Regions from separate parts of the Homo sapiens genome. Here regions 1 and 3 are each linked to region 2. Evidence: promoter capture Hi-C in 16 types of primary human blood cells and fetal thymus (Javierre and others, 2016). All regions are on one chromosome and are shown on one strand. The core of a region is centred on a gene start or on the middle of the fragment in contact, and the rest is flanking DNA. Distances in the headings are between cores, read along the strand shown.

Evidence for each region. The method cuts DNA at HindIII sites, captures the fragments that hold promoters and counts their contacts. A CHiCAGO score of 5 or more calls a contact.
Region 1: a contact is called between a fragment that was not itself captured here and the fragment with the promoter of NLRX1 in region 2, in 3 of 17 cell types (endothelial precursors, megakaryocytes and M2 macrophages). The highest score is 6.5, in endothelial precursors.
Region 3: a contact is called between a fragment that was not itself captured here and the fragment with the promoter of NLRX1 in region 2, in 1 of 17 cell types (fetal thymus). The highest score is 5.5, in fetal thymus.

The regions. Positions count from the first base shown.
Region 1 is chr11:119,374,148-119,378,906 of GRCh38, reverse strand. The region is part of intron 1 of USP2 (ubiquitin specific peptidase 2); the gene reads left to right. Among named protein-coding and RNA genes, the nearest start is that of USP2, 5.2 kb to the left of the region's middle. RefSeq lists enhancers at 1,097-1,685, 2,002-2,580. The HindIII fragment of the contact is 2,877 bases long and covers 1,813-4,689 here.
Region 2 is chr11:119,165,759-119,170,347 of GRCh38, reverse strand. It overlaps NLRX1 (NLR family member X1), which reads right to left and starts at 1,623. Exons shown (of 10, transcript NM_001282144.2): 1 at 1,046-1,623. RefSeq lists enhancers at 123-827, 828-1,533 and a silencer at 1,105-1,714. The HindIII fragment of the contact is 14,996 bases long and covers 1-4,589 here.
Region 3 is chr11:119,310,080-119,314,472 of GRCh38, reverse strand. MCAM (melanoma cell adhesion molecule) reads left to right here. Exons shown (of 16, transcript NM_006500.3): 6 at 1,524-1,703; 7 at 1,825-1,946; 8 at 2,045-2,207; 9 at 2,303-2,421; 10 at 2,524-2,665; 11 at 2,822-2,943; 12 at 3,052-3,193; 13 at 3,288-3,383; 14 at 3,570-3,717; 15 at 4,007-4,124. MIR6756 (microRNA 6756) reads left to right here and starts at 1,461; the gene lies at 1,461-1,523. The HindIII fragment of the contact is 5,572 bases long and covers 358-4,393 here.

The sequences.
Region 1 (4,759 bases), core at 2,002-4,501, 210 kb before region 2:
GCCCGGTGGGTGTCAGGGGCAAGACCAAAGGCTCCTCCGGAGGCTGAGAACAGAGGAAAGATGACGCCCTAGAGGAGAAGGAAGGAGACCGGGGCTCTCCCCTTGGGAGGGGGCACCAGGAGAGTACCTGGGCAGAGGTGCTTGGAAAAGAGAATTTAAGGATCCCAATACTACCTGGAGGCCCATTTCTTTGCCTTGTCTTGGAAGTGTATAGATGCCCACCCACTCACAACCCCAAATCAAGGAGCACCCTATAGAAACTGCCCTGGGCCCATCCACTTCTTCTCCACCAGTCAGGATTCTTGCCTTAATCTCCAGTCTCTTTATCTTACCTCCTCCCCTCCCCCAGCTCTTGGGTAACTACTGGGAGCACAAGAAAGAGAAATGGACCCAAATTCCCTTGGATGACCCCCTGCCAGGGGAGGCAAGAGGATTAGGCTGGTGGATCAGCGGGTGCTAGCCCCTGATAGACAAAGCCTAGTGACAGGCTGGAGGGGAGGAGGCCAGCCCAGGCCCTGGGGCCTGAGAGGAGTAGGCGGAGTTCAAGGACTGTTTGAGCATAAATATGCCCCCGCCCCCCCATCCCCTACTCTACCCATGTCCTCTACACCTGCCAGGATTCCCTCATCCCATCCTCCAGGACCAGACACTTGTGCCCAGATAGTGCAGCAGGTGACCCAAGCAGCTGGGAGGCAGGGTCAGAGTGCAGATGGAAGGATACAGGGCCCCCTCTCACCCACCTTGTCCTTCAAGGTCAGCACATTCTGATGCTGTTAGCAAGTGGCTTTAGGAAGCTCTGAGGTCACCACTGTGGGGGCTCCCAACCACCTGGCGGGACTGGCTGGGACTCCCCACTCACCTTTTCCGGGCACCTGAGTAGGAGGGAAGAGACTTAACCCTGTTTAGGCGTGCTTCTGAAACTCAGCTAGAGGCTCTCTATCCAGGCCCCAGTAGCAAAGCAGGCTTTCACCCCAGAAAGCCAAGCAGATCTGGGCAGAGAGAAGCCATGAAGGTTACTGGGATGTGGGGCATCACCCATCCCCTGCCCCCAGGGCCAGGAGCGCCTGGAATTCCTGGGGAGCAAGTCCCTCCCCTGGCTGGGCAGGTTAGGGAGCCCTTCATGTGAGCAACAGGAAATGACAGTGGCTGAAGCAAAGGGGTTGGCTGCCCCACGGGGACAGGGTTCATTTTAACCCCTGACTCACCCAGCATGGGTACCTTGAGGAGTGGGCCAAGCTGCAGCCAGGGTAGGAGGCTAGGGACTTGCTCATAACCAGGCCAGGGACCCAAGGCCCCGAGCTGGGGTAGATGCTGGTGCCAGGGGACATGCAGGGGCTTGGCACAGTGGGTGAAATGGAGGCTTCCTGGACCATCTCTCGGCCTATCAGTATTGTTCTGGGGCTCGAGTTGCACCTGGCTTCACTTTCATTCACCTGCAGTGGAAAATCCAGAGGGCTGCTCCTGCCAGAGTCTGTACACCGCATGCTGTTACTGGATGACGGACACCTGGATCCTGTGGTGGTCCTTCCCTCAAACCCCACCCACAGGTCCCAGTCCTGACCCGTCCCATGGAGAGCCAGGGAAGAGTGAAGCAGGGGTCTGGGCTTCAGGCCAGATATAGCAGACAGAGCACGAGTCCAGCCCAGCTCTGCCACTGCTCCCAGTGTGACTTTGGGAAATCCACATCACTCCCAGCATCGCCAACTTCCTCATCTGCAAATGGACGTGATAACAGCACCTACCGCTTAAAGGAGCAGGGAGGATTCAGTGAGTTAATGCACTGTGTCCCAAGCCTTAGTGCAGTTTTAAGCTTTAATAACTTCAGAAATATGAATGCTAAAAACTTCATTTGAAAGTTTCCATATTTAAATTTCTTGTATATTTATTTTTTAATTGTGAAAATGTTTTTAAATTTTAATTTAAATAATTTAATCTGTCCAAAGAGGTGTGTAAGTTGGAGACATTTATGTCTGAAAGAATCCCAGCTTAAACCTGCACTAAGACTTTTTGGGGTGCTCTGTGTATGAAGCACATCTAGAAGAATGCGTCACATGGCAAGGGCCGATGAGAGCTGATGTGAGACTGCAGAGAAGATGGACTCAGAAGCTGCATGTGAAGTACTCAACATGCCTGGGGCCTGGTTCAGAGGTGATCAGCACCAGCCAGCTGGGGTGACAGCTGCTTGGCTCAGATGCCCTGACAGGAAGCCCAGTGCCTCTGTGCAGAGGAACTCTGCTGCACCTCCCAGGAGAGGGAAACTGAGCAAAGCAACAGGAATCTCTGACAGAGAAGGAAGGGTCAGGACACCTCAGTGAAGATGGCCAGGAGGAGGAGCTGGGCAGGGGACTGCCCCCATTGTCCAAGGTGGCGGACACCTGGAGAGGCGCTGCCTGGAGCTGCATGCCTGTACTTGCCAGCTCTGGGTAAACAGTGAAAGGAGCTGGGCAGCAGGGGCCCCCCGCACTGGGCAGGGAGGGGTATGGGGGATCCCAGCCAATTGGCTTGCCTCCCACTGCCCCATGAAAGGGCCATTCAGTTCAGGCTGTTCCTGTGGCAACAGGGAGACTCGCAGCCACGTGAGTGCCCGTCCTGTCCCTGTCTTGCGCAGCGAGACTCCGGCCAGGGCCCCAGCCCGCTCTCCTGCCCATAGTGCATTCTGTGGCCTCCAGGGACAGCTGTGCAGGTAATGCCAAGGGGCACCAACCCAGGCTGTGCTTTCACCTGGAAGGTGCTAGGACCTTTGAGAGTGAAACTGGGGGTTGCGGGAGGGGAGAGACATGTGGAAGGCCCCGGCCCCAGTAGGAACCCTCTCCGCAGGCATGGGAACTGTAGCTAGAAGTCAGAGCCGAGAGGCAGCTTCCATGGAGTATTAGTGATGGCATGACTCCCAGGGCTGCTAGGAGGAGGCGGAGGGGTCTGGCAATCACCTGCCAGATGGGAGGGAGAGTGGGGATTTGGGAGCCCTCCTGGGAATCTGTGGGCCAGAGATGTGGCCCCACCTCCGGCTCCAAAGCCTTTCAGAGCTGTCTGTCCCTGTCCTCTGGACCTCGTTTGGCCCCAGCACTTCTGCGTCATCAGCAGGGTCAAGGGATGTCACGGGCTTGGGGCGCTGCCCGAAGAATACCAATTCCCTGAGAGCCTTACTGTGGGGGAGGGAGAGGGAGAGCTGTGGGGAGGAGCCATGAGCTCATACCCTTGTTGGGGGGATTGTATCTGATTGGCTGCCTGGTGTCCCAGAGCCCAGCTCCTGAGACCTGGAGTCTCTTTGACTTTGCATTATTGATGGAGTTCTCCAAAGCAAAATAGGGCAGGACTGGGCCCCCACCCCGACCCTGTGCCTCTGTCTGTCTCTCCCGCTATGGTTTCCCTCTAACGCTGTGTGACATCATCCCCCAGTTACCTTTTCCTAGAAAGGGGTGAAAGTTGTGCTGGGCACAGTGGGCAAAGGAGTGTACATGAAGGGCCAGGGGCCCCCTGGGCCAGGTGGCAAAAGGCTAGACAGTAAGATGGACCAGGCCTTTCTGATGTCAGCCTGGACTGAAAACTGCTGGAGTTCTCAGGCAGGGTCAAGGAATGCTGTTCCGGGCCTATATGGAAGCCACCTGCTCATCTCTCACCCCTGTACCTACCCCAAAGCCTTGTGTGGACTGGGATTCTAGAGCTTTCTGCCAAGCCCTCGCATTTGGGGTTTGGCACCAGCTCCTCTCTGCCCTAATGGGCTGGGTTGCCAAGCCAGTGTCTGCTGAGTGGCCAGATGTCTGCCCACTGCCTGTTTCTCTCGCTGGGGGCTGCAGGGGGAGGCCTGGCATCCCAAGCTGAGGCCAGAGGCTGGCCAGGCTGGGAGACAGCCAGCCCTGATATTATCACAGACCTTCAGAGGGCGGAGCCATGCTGCCTCGCAGTAGCTGGGGGAGGAGATGGTAGCCACTGTCATTGTGGAGCCCTTCACGTGTTGTTATCTCATTTATTCCTCACAACAGCCCTGTGAGGTAGGAATTATGAGGATGATGGTTTTACTCATTTACAGATGAGGAAGTTGGGGCTCAGAGAGGTTACGTGACTAGTGCAAAATCACCCAGCTAGTCCATCACAGGGCAAGTCCCACAACTCTGAGAGTCCTGGATGGCTCTGCTCCATCCCCCTAGAAAGCCCCCCAAGAGCCCCTGATGCCCTCGGGGAAAGGCGTCTGACCCTACTTGCTCCTCTGCCACTCCAGCTCCATTGGATACAGGCTGCACGTTTACGGTGATGGAAGGCCTCTGGGGGTCCCCAACTGACCCTAAATCTGATGCGGGGGAGGTAACTCCAGGTTAAGTAGAAAGAACACTGGCCAGGATTTTAAAGACCTGGATTCCAGTCCTGGCTCTGCTGGTGTGTGGCCGGGGGCAAATAAGCATCACTTTTCCCATCTGTATAACAGATAGATTAAAATTCATGATCCTCTGGGGCTCTCAAAGCTCCACATTCAGCAGTGTCTGTGTTCCTTCACTAGACCCTCCCCAGCTGCAGGACTGGAGCAGGGAAGGACTGGGAATGCCACCTGCAGTGCAAGATTTGGGACTGTAGGGGGCCCCCTTTGCACAAGCATCGCCAGGACCAATTTGAGATCTGTGTTTGTAGAGGAAGCCTGTGTTGGTAGAGGAACTCTTAGGAGGCCACAGGGCCCTAACTCCACTTAGAACAGAAGCTTAGCTCAGTGAAGTGAGTGTCCCTCACTGTGGGACCATGCAGCAGGTGCTGGTGTCTGGGGAAAGGGTCT
Region 2 (4,589 bases), core at 374-2,873:
TTCCTCCCCACTGCTTTGCCAGCCAGTTGCTGCCCCGACCAGCATTTATTGGACCCGATCTCCTCACCAGCCTTTCTGCCTTCAGTCTCATCCCATTCTAATCCCTCACCCCAAGCACCAAGCACCTCCCGAAAAGTCCAAGGTTACTTATAGAGTCCAAACACTGGGCTCCCACAAGCTATTTTTCTGAGTTTGTCCCAGCCTGTGCCTTATACCCCAGGCTCACCGGATTCTTGCTCTTGCTGTCCTAAATTTGTTCATACACTCTTCCCAGTTTGGAATGACCTTTTTCCTCTGTTAGAGTCCCAACCAATTTTTTTTTTTTTTTTTTTTTTTTTTTTTTTTTTCCTGAGACAGGGTCTCTCGCTCTGTTGCCCAGGCTGGAGTGCAGTAGTACGATCTCAGCTCACAGCAACCTCTACCTCCTGGGCTCAAGCCATCCTCCTGCTTCAGCCTCCTGAGTAGCTAGGACTAAAGTGGTGTGCCACCACACCTGGCTAATTTTTGGCTTTGGTTTTTGTAGAGACGGGGTTTTCACCATTGTTGCCCAGGGTGGTCTCGAACTCCTGGGCTCAAGTGATCCGCCCGCCTTGCCCTCCCAAAGTGCGGGGACTGCAGGCGCGAGCCACCACTCGGGCCCCAACCAATCTTTTAAGATCCTGCTCAAAAGTCTCCGTCCCTGGGAAGTCTTTTCTGAGGCCTCTGAACTCACTTAAATGGAATGTGCCCCTATTTGGCACCTGGTCTCCTCCACTGAGATCGGGGCTTCTTGGGCAGGGTACGCTTAAGGAGAACTGGCTGCATTGGGCCACCTGCCTTAGCAGGGCCAACCAGCGGAGGAGCTGGCTGGGTGCTGGCCCGTCCCAGGGGCTGCGGAAGGGTTAAGAGAGGGCTCCAGAAGCCTGAGAAAGCCTAGGTTCCGGTTTAACCTCGGATCTAGGGCCACTGAGTCAAGACGGGACTTGCGGGGCCGAGGGCAGTTCTCCGGTGATCACCCAGGTCTCCAGGGCAATGAGAAAAGGAGGGGGCACTGCAGGAAACGTACAGGGGCGGTGTTCCTACAGGTCCAGAGCTCCTCCACCAAACTGGGTCCCAAACAGCTCTCCTACTTTCGGGTGGCCTCGGGAACGCAGGGGGAGACTTGCCAGAACGCCCGCCATTCAGCGCCCAGCTCCGTCCCTCTCGTTCTCGGCCGGGATCTCCCCGCGGCCCTTGCACAGCCTCCTCCCCCGGCCCGCCCTGCCCCCCGCTCAGCGCGGCCTCCCAGCCAGGGCGCAGGGGTTATCAAGCCCGCTAGGCCTTTACCCGCGGCTGCCCAGTTCCGGGAGCCGTCGGCCGCGGCCCAGAGGGGTCGGCTGGGCGGACGCCGGCGTCTCCCGCTAGCTCCCAGAGTCCCCGGCTCCTCGGCGTGGCGCTTCCTGCCCACCTCCGCCCGCCTGCGCGGCCCTGGCACCTGGCAGCGGGCGCGAAAGAGGACGAGCCCAGGCACTCGGGCCTGCGGGGTCCTGGGACGAGGGGGTCAGCGAGAGGGGCCCGGTGCTCCGGAGCAGGCGCAGGGCTGGAACCCCGGCGCCACCCGTCCCGCCATCGTCCCCCCTCCCTGCCTCCATCCCCGCGGGCACTGCCGCTAGTACTGCCCTCTGCAGGTTCCCAAGCGCCAGTGACACCCAGTGACCTCACTAACCACCTCCCAGGCTGGGCTGCTTGTTAGGCCCATTTTACAGATGAAGAAACTGATGCTCAGAAGGGTGAAATGACTTGTGCAGGTTGATTCAGTTAGGAAGTGGATGAGCCAGAACAACATCCCGGGCCTGAGTCTTCCTACCTTACCCCTGGGCCTCCCTGAGGCGCGGTGTCCAGGGGATTCTTCCCTCTGTCCCTCTCCGCCTCCCCAGCCTACCTTCAGGCAGAGACCTGAGCCTAAGGCTTCCTTGGGTTCTGCCTTATGTATCCGGTCCTCTTCAGAGCCCAGACCTATGTGTGTGGCTGCTGGTAACCTTGGTTAAGAAAGAAGGAAGAATGGGGGCTGAAGGACAACTTGCACCCCAACCTGCTCTTCGGGTCTGACACCCATTCATGGCCTAGCCCTGGGGCTTCCCAGTTCCCAAAGCCCCCACCCTTATCCCTACACTTCCACACACTTCCACACCCTGGGCTCACGTAGCCCAGAAGGAGGAGCCACCCACCACCCACAGCCAGGGCACGCCTTCGTATGCAAGCATGAGTGTACGATGTTCACACAACAGAGCTGTGCACTAGGGCACCCACAGAGAGGCTCTCCAGGGCAGGGCTGGGAAGAGGACTTACTGAAAACAATGTGGATGTTTCATTTAGACATTTGTTCATTCGTTGTACTGTGGTATTGGGTAGCACTGAGCACCTCACCCCCACAAGCCAGGTCCAGCACTAGGCCCTGGGCTGCCAACCACAGCAAGGCAGGCACCTCACTTTAATGGAATCAACTACCACATTTACAAATGATGTACTTCAAGGCCGAGGCAGGAGGATCACTTGAGACCAGGAGTTTGAGACCAGCCTGGGTGACATAGTGAGACCCTGTCTCTATTTAAAATGAAAATAGAAAATAAAAATATAAAAAACAGACAAACAAATGATGTACTTCAGTGGCAGAGGCAAGGCATTAGGAGAGTCTGGAAAAGGGAGTGCAGAGGAGGTAACATTTGTACTGGATCTGAAAAAATAAATCAGAGGACCAGCCGCGGTGGCTCACACCTGTAATCTCAGCACTTTGGAAGGCTGGGGGTGAGGGCAGATCTCCTGAGGCCAGGAGTTTGGGACCAGCTCAAACTCGTCACCATGGCCAACATGGTGAAACCCCCGTCTCTACTAAAAATAACAAAAATTGGCCAGGCATGGTGGCTCATGCCTGTAATCCTAGCACTTTGGGAGGCCAAGGCAGGCGGATTGCCTGAGCTCAGAAGTTCACGACCAACCTAGGCAACGTGGTGAAACCTCATCTCTACTAAAAATACAAAAATTAGCCGGGCTGGGTGGTGCATGCCTGCAGTCCCAGCTACACAGGAGGCTTAGGCAGGAGAATCGCTTGAATCCAGGAGGCGGAGGTTGCCGTGAGCCAAGATCACGCCACTGCATTCCAGCCTGGGAGACAGAGCAAGACTCTGTATCAAAAAAAAAAAAAAAATCAACCAGACGTGGTGGCATGGGCCTGTAGTACCAGCTACTCAGAAGGCTGAGGCACAAGAATTGCTTGAACTTGGGAGGTAGAGGTTGCAGTGAGCCGAGATCATGCCACTGCACTCTAGCCTGGGAGATAAAGCAAAACCGTGTCTCAAAAATAAAAACAAAAGCACAAAAAATTAGCTGGGCATGGTGGCACATGCCCATAATCACAGCTACTCAGGAGACTGAAGCAGGAGAATTGCTTGAACCTGGGAGGCGGAGGTTGCAGTGAGCCAAGATTGCACCACTGCACTCCAACCTGGGCAACAGAGAGAGACCCTGTCTCAATAAATAAATAAATCAGAGAAAGGAAAGGCAGGGCATCCCAGCAGCAGGGTGAACAACACATTTGCATTTTAAAAGAGGTTCTTCAAGGGGAGTAGAATAGGATGTGGGAGGGGAAGTATAGGAACCCCATGAATGTAGTCTCATGGGTGACAGTTTGGGCCTGGTAATCTCCTCTAGCTTCATTCCACTTACCTAGCCATGCAAGACAGTCACCTGGCAGCAGTTCCTGGACACAGCTCAGAGCAATCTGTTTTCCTCCCCTGTCACCTTCCCCATGGGTACGACAACCATGTAGGTTTTATTAATAACATATACTTTGACTGGCCTCTTGCAGACAGAAGTACTGTGAGTCATGCCGTGGGCATGTCCTCTGTTGTCTGACCTAGGATGCGGTGCAGTGGCTCACCCTATAATCCCAGCACTTTGGGAGGCCGAGGTGGGTGGATCACCTGAGGTCAGTAGTTCGAGACCAGCCTGACCAACGTGGTGAAACCCCGTCTCTACTAGAAATACAAAAAAATTAGCCAGGCTTGGTGGCAGGCACCTGTAGTCCCAGCTACTCAGGAGGCTGAGGCAGGAGAATCGCTTGAACCCAGGAGGCAGAGGTTGCAGTGAGCCGCGATCATGCCACTACACACTCCAGCCTTGGCTACAGAGTGAGACTCTGTCTAAAAAAAAAAAAAAAAGTTATAGCATGAGGCCGGGGTGTGGTTGCTCACACCTGTAATCCCAGCACTTTGGGAGGCTAAGGCAGAAGGATCACTCGAGCCCAGGAGTTTGAGACCAGCTTGGGCAACATAATAGAACCCTGACTCCACAAAAATAATTTTTAAAAAATTAGCTAGGCATGGTGGCACGCACCTGCGGTCCCAGCTACTCTAGAGTCTGAGATGGGAGGATCGCTTGAGCCCAGGAAGTTGAGGCTGCAGTAAGCCATGGTTGCACCCTGTACTCTAGCATGGGTGACAGAGCGAGACCCTGTCTCAAAAAAAAAGAATTATTGCATGGACAACTGTCTTAGTCAACTCTGGTCTTCAGCACTTTGCATAGGTCTGGACACAGAGAAGGTGACTGTGTTAAAGAAGATGATATCAGATGGG
Region 3 (4,393 bases), core at 1,894-4,393, 140 kb before region 2:
CCCAAAAGCCACCCTTGGGCCAGGTGTGGTAGCTCACACCTGTAATCTCGGTGCTTTGGGAGGCCAAGGCAGGAGGATCTCTGGAGGTGAGGAGTTCAGGACCACCTTGGACAACATAGGGTGACCCTGTCTCTACAGAAAATAAAAAAATTAGCCAGGCATGGTGGTGTGTGCCTGTGGTCCCAGATACTTGGGAGGCTGAGGCAGGAGGATCATATGAGCCCAGGAAATGAAGGCTGCAGTGAGCTAGGATTGCACCACCACACTCCGGCCTGGGTGACAGAGCGAGACCCCATCTCTTAAAAAGAGCTGTCCCTATGGTACTACACAGGAACTGCCTTATATTTTCATTAAGCTTTTAACTTAAAAAAATTATACAAATGGTACTTGAAAATATTTTCATGAGAATTTAAACTGACAAAAAATCTAGAAGTTTCTTCTTGCCTGAGACCCCCCCTCCCAGAAATAATCTCTGCTATCAGGGTGTGTTCTTTCAAGCCTATTTCTATGTATTTGCTCATATATAGAAATATTTCTAGAATGATATAGGCTTCTGTGTTTTATTATCTAAATCAGTCATTCTTAACCAGGGGTGATTTTGTACCCCCTCCTCCTAGGAGATACTTGGCAATGTCTGGAGATATTTTTGGTTGTCACACATAGAGGGGGTGCTACTGCCATCTAGTAGGTAGAGAGACCAAGGATGTTGCTAACATCCTATAGGGCACAGGACAGCCCCCACAATAAAGAATCAACGTGGCCTAAAACATCAGTAGTGCTGGCTGGGCTCACGCCTGTAATCCCAGCACTTTTGGAGGCCAAGGTGGGCGGATCACCTGAGGTCGGGAGTTCAAGACCAGCCTGTCCAACACGGAGAAACCCCATCTCTACTGAAAATACAAAAGTAGCCGGGCGTGGTGGCGCATGTCTGTAATCCCAGCTACTCAGGAGGCTGAGGCAGGAGAATCACTTGAAGCCGGGAGGGAGGTGGAGGTTGCGGTGAGCCGAGATTGTACCACTGCACTCCAGCCTGGGCAACAAGAGTGAAACTCTGTCTGAAAAAAAAAAAAAAAAAATTATCAGTAGTGCTGAGAAACCCTGGTCTAAGTGGTGGTGTATGGTATACATTGTTAGACAATTTCTTTTATACAATGTTTCTGGGTCAGTCTATTTAGATCAACTGATCGTTTTGCTTACTGCCAAGTTTTCCATACTACGCATAGCAGGTAGTCGAGTTCACCATTCCCCATTTAGTGGACATCTAGACGGCTGCTCGTTTTTATCATTGCAGCATTCTTTGCACACATCCTTGGATATGAGCAGACATGAAAATGTTTTTCTAGGGTTGACACTGAGCAGTAAAAGTGCTGGGTTGAAGGGTTTCCAGCTTGCATTTGTACCTGGCCTTCTACAGGGGACAGGGGGCTATTTAGATGGTCCCCTGCCAACCCCAGTGGACAACCCTAGGGTGGGGCTGGAGGTGGGGCTGAGGCTGAGTCTTCCTCCCCTTCCTCCCTGCCCAGGGGTCCACATTCAGTCGTCCCAGACTGTGGAGTCGAGTGGTTTGTACACCTTGCAGAGTATTCTGAAGGCACAGCTGGTTAAAGAAGACAAAGATGCCCAGTTTTACTGTGAGCTCAACTACCGGCTGCCCAGTGGGAACCACATGAAGGAGTCCAGGGAAGTCACCGTCCCTGTTTTCTGTGAGTACTAACCTGACTCTCTGCTTACTGGGGCTGGGGCTGCTGGAAACTCCTGCTGGCTCCCCCTTATCCAGCCCAGGGTTGACTCATGGGCCAAGAGCTACCCCCTTTGCCTATGCAGACCCGACAGAAAAAGTGTGGCTGGAAGTGGAGCCCGTGGGAATGCTGAAGGAAGGGGACCGCGTGGAAATCAGGTGTTTGGCTGATGGCAACCCTCCACCACACTTCAGCATCAGCAAGCAGGTGTGGGGGCTTTGTGCTGGGTGCAGGTGGGGATGCAAGCAGAGACCCAGGTGGAGTGGCGGGAGGTGCACTCTGCTCACCTCCCCAATCCTCCCTAGAACCCCAGCACCAGGGAGGCAGAGGAAGAGACAACCAACGACAACGGGGTCCTGGTGCTGGAGCCTGCCCGGAAGGAACACAGTGGGCGCTATGAATGTCAGGGCCTGGACTTGGACACCATGATATCGCTGCTGAGTGAACCACAGGAACTACTGGTGAACTGTGAGGGGCTGGGGACCCAGGACAGGGGGACCAGGCTGGGGCAATAGGGAACTGGCCCCACCCTGCCCTGGGTGACATGATTGCTGTACCCCCAGATGTGTCTGACGTCCGAGTGAGTCCCGCAGCCCCTGAGAGACAGGAAGGCAGCAGCCTCACCCTGACCTGTGAGGCAGAGAGTAGCCAGGACCTCGAGTTCCAGTGGCTGAGAGAAGAGGTACCCAGGCGGGTCTGGGGCAAGGGGCTGATGGGGTGGGTGGGGCTGGCGGTGACAAGAATGTGCTCTTTCCCAGACCCTCTGACCCATCTCTCATCCCAGACAGGCCAGGTGCTGGAAAGGGGGCCTGTGCTTCAGTTGCATGACCTGAAACGGGAGGCAGGAGGCGGCTATCGCTGCGTGGCGTCTGTGCCCAGCATACCCGGCCTGAACCGCACACAGCTGGTCAACGTGGCCATTTTTGGTGAGGCCCTCCCTCTGGGTAGAGACCAGGTCACCCCAAGTGGGGTGGTTTTTAAGCTCTTTGACAAAAAGCCACCTGCTGCCCTGGGGAGCTCTGGTGCGGAGGGGGAGGCAGGCTAGCTGGGCTTGCCACCTCACCTCTCCCTACCTCCCCAAGGCCCCCCTTGGATGGCATTCAAGGAGAGGAAGGTGTGGGTGAAAGAGAATATGGTGTTGAATCTGTCTTGTGAAGCGTCAGGGCACCCCCGGCCCACCATCTCCTGGAACGTCAACGGCACGGTGAGCGGGTGTCTCATCTGCCACACTCTCCTAATCCCTGCCTGCGCTTTGTGGCCAGGACCAGAGATCCTCCCCATCCCCTGAGCTGCCTCCTTCCTTTCCTCGCAGGCAAGTGAACAAGACCAAGATCCACAGCGAGTCCTGAGCACCCTGAATGTCCTCGTGACCCCGGAGCTGTTGGAGACAGGTGTTGAATGCACGGCCTCCAACGACCTGGGCAAAAACACCAGCATCCTCTTCCTGGAGCTGGGTGAGGGCTGCATCCCTGCAGGGGATGGCAGGGGCAGGCCCAGGCACGGGCAGTAACTTGCGCTTCTCCTAACACCCCTCCCTCTGCCTCCTAGTCAATTTAACCACCCTCACACCAGACTCCAACACAACCACTGGCCTCAGCACTTCCACTGCCAGTCCTCATACCAGAGCCAACAGCACCTCCACAGGTAAGCCAGGCCTGGCAAGAGAACAGGGCTGTGCCAGGGCATCCTTTCTGCCCTGTCCCTCCCCAGAGAGCCCTGTCCAGAAAGGTGAGTAGCAGCCCCATCTTGTCGGCCCTGGACTGGCTGGGCCAACGATGGTGACGAAGTGGCCTGGGGCAGGGAGTGACGAGGAGTGTCTTTGTGGCGCAGAGAGAAAGCTGCCGGAGCCGGAGAGCCGGGGCGTGGTCATCGTGGCTGTGATTGTGTGCATCCTGGTCCTGGCGGTGCTGGGCGCTGTCCTCTATTTCCTCTATAAGAAGGGCAAGCTGCCGTGCAGGCGCTCAGGGAAGCAGGAGATGTAAGCCCAACACCGGCCCCTCCGCCCCCGCCCGTTTTGCCACCCAGCCTGCTGCCTGCCCAGCGCCCGCCTGCCCCTTGACAGCAGGAGTGGGGCCCTGGGTCAGGGTGCTGCCTGCTCCACTACCCACTGCCCAGCTTCCATCAGCCACATGGTCTCATGACCTGCTTCCCTGCCCTGGGCTGGCCCTGGAGCAAGGAGCCCTCATCCATTCCACATCCTTCACAGCGGGCCCTTCTCTTCCTGTGGCCCTGAGATACCAACCTCTCACCTCCCTCCCTCCTCCCAGCACGCTACCCCCGTCTCGTAAGAGCGAACTTGTAGTTGAAGTTAAGTCAGATAAGCTCCCAGAAGAGATGGGCCTCCTGCAGGGCAGCAGCGGTGACAAGAGGGCTCCGGGAGACCAGGTAGGAGGCGGTTCCTGTGGCCAGAGCCTGCCACATCCTCAGGGACCGGGGGCAGTAGGGACTAACGGTTCTCTCTATCCTTCATCCCTCTTTGTCAGAGATAGGGAGCAGGCCCCATCTTGCCTTCTTAACACTACTCACAGATGGCAGGGCCAAGCAAGTGGCTGAGGGAGCTTGGAGGAAGACTGAGAAAGACCCTGTCCCATCACCTTTTCCTGACCAATGCCCGTGGCTCTGGGTGTGGCCATTTCACCAGTGCAGTCAGACGG